Linked DNA regions of Homo sapiens: region 2 is linked to region 1. Evidence: promoter capture Hi-C in 16 types of primary human blood cells and fetal thymus (Javierre and others, 2016). All regions are on one chromosome and are shown on one strand. Each heading gives the region's core, a stretch centred on a gene start or on the middle of the fragment in contact. The rest is flanking DNA. Distances are from core to core; before and after follow the strand shown. Region 1 holds the start of NR2C1 (nuclear receptor subfamily 2 group C member 1). Region 2 holds the start of MRPL42 (mitochondrial ribosomal protein L42).

Region 1 (3,451 bases), core at 905-3,404:
TTTTTACTGCACTTTTTTTTTAAAAGGACTTAGTTTACTTTTTCTATGTTTATATATATTTAGATACACAAATACCTACCATTATGTTACAACTGCCTACAGTATTCAGTAACATGCTGTACGGGTTTGTCCTAGGTTTGTGACTTAAGAGCAACAGACTACAACATACAGCCTAGGTGTGTCTAGGCTAGACCATCTAGGTTTGTATAAGTACGCTCTATGATGAGAGTAAAATGAAATTGCCTAAGGACTCATTTCTCAGAACATATCCCTGACGTGACTATACTTTCATAATTTTCACCTTTGGGACCAGCTTATGGTATTGGCAGGGGTCTCCCTTAAAACCAAACCAAATACACAACAAATAATGCTAAAAGGTAGAGGTTGGAAAAAAAAAAAAGTTTCACTCTCGCCCAGGCTGGAATGCAATGGTGCCAACACTGGACCAGACTCCTGGGCTTAAGCAATCCTCCCACCTCAGCCTCCTCAGTAACTAGGAATACAGGCCTGCACCACCATGCCTTTTTTTTTTCTTTTTTTTTTAAGAGATGGAGTCTCACTATGTTGCCCAGGCTGGTCTCAAACTCCTGGCATCAAGCAAGCCTCCTACCTCAGCCTCCCAAGGCTCTGGGGGCAGAAGCCACTGTGCTCAGCAGAGGTGGATTTTTAATGAGGGATAAAGCATATTTTTACTTGTTAGGGATTGTTTCATGCCTTGATCTCTGTCCGTCTGCCTAGTTCCAGAGAGAAATAACAGAGATGTTCTCATTCCCAGCAAACGTTTGTTTTTCCTTCCTTGGATTTCTGCCCTGAGTTTGTGGCTGCTTTCCTACAGTGCCGACCTAAGCTAGATAAAATAGAAATTTCATGACAAAACAAAGGAGATTTAAAAAAAAACTAGAAATTTCAAGAATGCTTCAAAATCTAAAGCGCAGAGTACTTTGCACACAGGGCAGTTATTCCTGCCACACCTTGCCACTACAGGTGGCCACTGTCAGAATGCGATGTTCCACCAATGTCTCTTCATTTCACAATTTGAAAAATTTTTTTTGTGGAGGCAGGGTTTTGTTATCTTGCCCAAGCCGGTCTCCAACTGCTGGCCCCAAGTGATCTTTCCTTGGCCTCCCAGCAGCCACTTGCCTGGCTTTCATTTCATACATCATTATTGAATAGCAGGCATTGTCCTATGTGCTTGGTAATACATCACTGAGCAAAACAGACAAAAAACGGCCATTGAGGATAATCCTCAATATATAATAATATATATATTATAGAGAGGATGTGGAATATACATATATATGTGTGTGTGTATATATAGAGAGAGAGAGAAAGACTCATTGTGTCACCCAGGCTGGAGTGCGGTGGTGTGATCTTGGCTCACTGCCGTCTTGACTCAGGTGATCCTCCCACCTCAGCCTCCAAGTAATTGGGACGACAGGCACGCGCCACCAGGACTGGCTAATTTTTTTGTAGAGACGGGTTTTCGCCATGTTGGCCAGGCTGGCCTCAAACAACCGGGCTCAAGTGATCCGTCCGCCTCGGCCTCCCAACTTGCTGGGATTACAGGCGTGAGCTACCGTGCCCAGTCTCTAGTGATTATATTCTTGCCCTGTTTAGCCATTATGTCTCTTTACTCACAACAGTTTATAAGTGAAACTTTGCCTTACCATTTGCATGAGTCGGCCTCAGCTTGTCATTATATATAAAGCTTACTAATGTAAATGACGAGTTAATGGGTGCAGCACACCAACATGGCACATGTATACATATGTAACGAACCTGCACGTTGTGTACATGTACTCTAGAACTTAAAGTGTAATACAAAAAAAAAAAAGTTTAAATATGATTGGACTCTACCCCAGAGCCCAGTTTTCCAGAAATTAGAAACAGATATGCCTAAGACCCAGAGGGTTATTTATTACTCAAATCTAAAACGTTGACTCAAAACCTCCCCTAATGCCCACCTTTGGCAAACGATGCTTAAACCTTTGCACGTGGCTTCAAAAATTACCTGGCTGGGAACGCGTAGCTCTGGCGGGGCACTCTGCCTCCAAGCCAAAAGGGGGCAGTGGACTCACAGAGCCGCTGCTCGGCCCTCCGATCCCTCCACCCCACCCTGGGAACGTCACGACCTCCTCTCGCCGCTTCTCCCCGTTGCTAATGCGCAGGCGCTGGCGGGATAGCGCGCCGCCGAGCCGAGAAAGAGGTCACGAACTCTGACCCCCCAGAAATACCCAAACACAGAAAGCTCTCTCCGCCGTGAATCTCGATCCCACATCCCGTCGGCTTTCTTCAACCTCTCTTCCCGGAGCGCCCCCCAATCCACGAGTGGCAGCCGCGGGACTGTCGCGTCGGCGCCCGACGCCGGAGTCAGCAGGGCGCAAAAGCGCCGGTAAGAAACGCTGGGTGGGGACACCAGCGACCGCGTCGGGGGCGGGGGCCAGGGGGTGCCCTTCACCCCAACCGCCAACGGACGCGGTCCCAGCGCATCCCCCGGCCGGCGTCCTGCGGCCAGCGGAGCCGTTCAGTTTGGGAGCGCCGCTTGGGGCTGCTCGACTTCGGCTGGGAGCGCGGAGCTGCGGCGCCAAATGCGCGGGGCCCCGGGAGAGGCGGGGGCGACAGGGGCGGCGGGACGCGGGGCCGGACGGCGAGCGGCTTGGAGCACACAACCCCCTTTCCAGCTGCGCTTACCGCAGCGCCTCTGACCTTTAACCTGCAGGGAAAGCTTCCGCGGCGCTGCAGCTTTCCCCGCCCGGGAGAGCCGCGCGCAGCGCCGGGGCTTCCAGGGCGCACGGCTAACGCCGGCACGAGTGAGACGTGGGAGAGGCCGACCCTCGGCTAGTGGCCGCAAGTCCCGGCCTGCATCCCGTCACTAACTCCCGTGCTTTCACGGGACGGACAGAATGACTCCCCCCACTTTCACTTTTCTCTCACGGCAAATCTGGCCAGGGTCGTCGCTGCCTGTGGGCCTGGATCTTTTCAGAAGAAATGGAACGGCCCCAGGGTTCTCACTGCAGGGGGCATGTCCAAGCTTCCGATAGATAGCTCTTTTGTTAAGAAATAATTCTTCCAACTCGGGCAGATACCATTTTTGTGCAGTACGAATGTTGCCAGGTTGTCCCATAATCTTCAGTAAGTAGGTCAGCCTTTAAAAAAGTAACCGGAAAGCAAAAGCAGAAAGACCTAAAATTACGGCCTTTAGGGTTTAGTACCGCTAGAATTTGTAAATGGACCTTCGATTTTGAGCTTTTTTGAACCATTTCTGCTGTGTGGTTGGTGATACTCGATTTTTTTTTCTTTTTTTTTTTTTTTTTTTGAGAGGGAGAGGGAGTCTCACTGTCGCCAAGCTGGAGTGCGGTGGCGCGATCTCGGCTCACTGCAACCTCCGCCTCCAGGTTCAAGCGATTCTCCTGTCTCAGCCTCCCGAGTAGCTGGGATTACAGACACGAGC
Region 2 (3,123 bases), core at 436-2,935, 1.6 Mb after region 1:
TCTACTCCTGCTGAAGAGATAAAGAAAAATCAGTGCTACCTATGGTAAATTTAAGTTATATTAAACACCACAAGAACAAGGTAAGAATCACTGCCTAGAAGTCAACTGAAGCAATGCTTTTAAACAACTTGGCAATTCCACATGATTGAACAACAGGACGAAGAGCGACATGGACAGAATATAAGATCAGAACCACTGGAACTATGTCCATTACTATTTATCTTAGATACAAACTTCTCTGCAGGACCCAGTGCAGCTCCTTCCACTTAATGAATACTCAGTAAATGTGTAATTACTCTTGAAACAGTCACTCACAAATGGTACACAGAGTATTCATTCTTTTAATGCTAGTGTGGCTGTGTACACCCTCCAAGGTTCCATACACAAGATACTACATCATTTACAGTACTATCCTGTTTCTGATTAAATGAAATAGTTGTCTGCCCTGAGCCATTAATAATAATAATAATAATAAAGAAATATCAAACAAGGCCTATCCTTAGCCTATTACTCAATTGGAGGAACTCATAAATGCCCTCAAGTCCCAGATAAAATTTCACCATCTTATATGTGTACAAAGTCTTTAACTTTCCAACGTACTTTCACCACCATTTCATTTTGCTCTCGTATTAATCATGTGAGGTATCTTTATTCTGATTCATGAAGAAACTAAAGTACAAAATTTAAACGTCTTGCTTCCAAGGACTTTAGAGTCAGTCACTGCCAAATTGGGAAACTTTAAACAAGTCATTAACTAAACGATCCTCAGTTTCTCCAATGACAAAATGGGGAAAACCACAATCTTCATGGCCTGTTGTGAATAAATGACAAATAACCATTGTTAAATCTTGTTTTTAATAGTCTTCAATGAGTATCCGTGCCCTTCCCCCCAATAGTGATAAAAGAGAATTAGGACACAGGCCCTCTTATTTGCTAGTCTAAACCACTCACACTGATACCTTGCACTGCCAGTACATTAACACCGTTAACCCTGAGCTCATAGGTGTGCTTTTTAGTTTACAACCCACTTTCATATACAATATGTGCTCTGACTTTCACAAGTGTGTGAAGCAGCATCTCCATTTCAGATTAAGAACAAAGGCTCAGAGAGGTCAATCGATTACTTGCTCAGTATATCGCTGCTTAATACATGCGTGGGACGTAAACCCATGACTTCTGACCACGAATAAAACATCTTGGGGGAAATTAGGTCCCCTCTGTCCGAAGCCCAGAGAAAAGCACGCCCTGCTGGGAGTCAGATTATTCACCCCAGGAAGATCATTTCAGAGATCAAGTCCCTCAGCCCGGAATTCAACCCCAAAACAAAAGCTACAGAGCCTCTGAGGGTCAGAGGTTTGAGGAACAGGCTACCAAGAGCACCAGAACTCTTCGACCTAAAGGAGTCCCTAGAGCCACAAGCTGCATCACCTCCCCACGGGCGTCCGCCAGGGAACAAAGGGGGCGCTATAAGAAACGCGCAGCCACATGCCGGCTCTTCTGCAGGAAGGACAAAGGCTGGGGATGCAGGCAACCTCGCCCTGCCGGGAACGACAGGCGGGAGACCTCTACAACTGCCGACCAACACTGTGGGACTGCCCAGTTTCGAGGAAGTCCTCGACAGGAGGAGTAGAGGGAAGCGGTTACCTTGACGGCTTCTCACCACGAACCCGCCATCTTGTTTCAATCCTGGTCCCACGAAACAGCGCTGCGCGCGCCGTCCCAGCCCGCGGGGCATTCTGGGAAATGTAGTCTCCGCGGGAAAGCGGCCCGGGTGCAGAGAGAAAGGGAGGATTGTTGCTATGGACTTTTACCTTTAGTTGGGGAAGCGTGGCCGCAGTGTTACTAAGGTGCCCAGAAAAACAAAATCACTGCCCCAAACACATACCCTTAGAAAGTAACAAGCTTTTTTTTTTTTTTTTTTTTGTGAGGCAGTCTCATTCTGTCACCCAGACTGGAGTGCAATGGCTCCCTCACGGCTCACTGCAGCCTCTACCTCCTGGGCCCAAGAGAGCCTCCCACCTCAGCCTCCTGAGTAGCTGGTACTACAGGCGCACACCACCACACCCAGCTAATTTTTTAATATTTTTGTAGAGACGAGGTCTCGGTATGTTGCCCAGGCTTGTCTCAAGCAATCCTCCTGCCTCGGCGTCCCAAAGTGCTGGAATTACAGGCATGAGCCACCATGCAAACCTATAAGTACTTTTTAAAAAAATTATGTTAATATTCAGAGAAATCGTAGATTGCTCTTTAGTAGATGAGTTAAAGTTTCCCAGGGGAAGAGACATTCCAGAGAAGCCCTGAAATGTGGAGGCTAGGATTTGGACGTTTGAAATCAGAACCTGAAGAGAACCTCCACTCTGAAAACCTGGCACTGTGCCCTCAGAACTGTGCTGGCTACCTATTATGGGAGGAAGTAAATATGCAGAATCTTGGACCTCGCTTTCCATCTTAGGAGGAAGGAAAGACCTCTGGGCCTTTGCACTCTCTGTTCCCATTGCCAGCAATGTGCTTCTCTGACCTCTTCTCATGACCTTACAGGTCTTTCTCAAATATCATCTTAGAAAGGACCACACCATTAAAATAGCCTCACCCACCCTTATTCCATGCCCCGCTTTATTTTCCTTCAGAATATTTACCATTACCTGACTTTATATTGATTATTTGTTTGCTCGTTGAATGTCTCTTTCTTTTTTTTTTTTTTTTTGAGACGGAGTCTTGCTCTATCGCCCAGGCCGGAGTGCAGTGGCATGATCTCAGCTCACTGCAACCTCCGCCTCTCAGCTTCAAGCGATTCTCCTGCCTCAGCTTCCTAATTAGCTGGGATTACAGGTGGCCACCACCACGCCCAGCTAATTTCTGTATTTTTAGTAGAGATGGGGTTTCGCCATGTTTGCCCGGCTGATCTCGAACTCCTTACCTCAGGTGATATGCCCACCTCGGCCTCTCAAAGGGCTGGATTACAGGCGTGAGCCACCACACCCAACCTCGTTTAATGTCTCTTATGCTGGATAATGTAAGCTCCTTGAAGACAGAGACATATGTCTATCTTGTTCTTCACTGTATGCAAACCCAGCATCTCAGACTGTGCTTGGTCTCATTATAGGTCTCCAGGAAGTGTTTGCT

The links. Contacts are between HindIII fragments. The CHiCAGO score rates a contact against its expected background, and 5 or more counts as called.
Region 2: a contact is called between the fragment with the promoter of MRPL42 here and the fragment with the promoter of NR2C1 in region 1, in 1 of 17 cell types (total CD8 T cells). The highest score is 5.1, in total CD8 T cells.

Annotation. Positions count from the first base shown.
Region 1 is chr12:95,072,321-95,075,771 of GRCh38, reverse strand. It overlaps NR2C1 (nuclear receptor subfamily 2 group C member 1), which reads left to right and starts at 2,154. Exons shown (of 14, transcript NM_003297.4): 1 at 2,154-2,392. RefSeq lists enhancers at 2,057-2,376, 2,067-2,567 and a silencer at 2,457-2,736. The HindIII fragment of the contact is 1,017 bases long and covers 1,711-2,727 here.
Region 2 is chr12:93,466,076-93,469,198 of GRCh38, reverse strand. It overlaps MRPL42 (mitochondrial ribosomal protein L42), which reads right to left and starts at 1,685. Exons shown (of 6, transcript NM_014050.4): 1 at 1,645-1,685; 2 at 1-7. RefSeq lists enhancers at 1,464-1,733, 1,794-1,853. The HindIII fragment of the contact is 2,939 bases long and covers 1-1,904 here.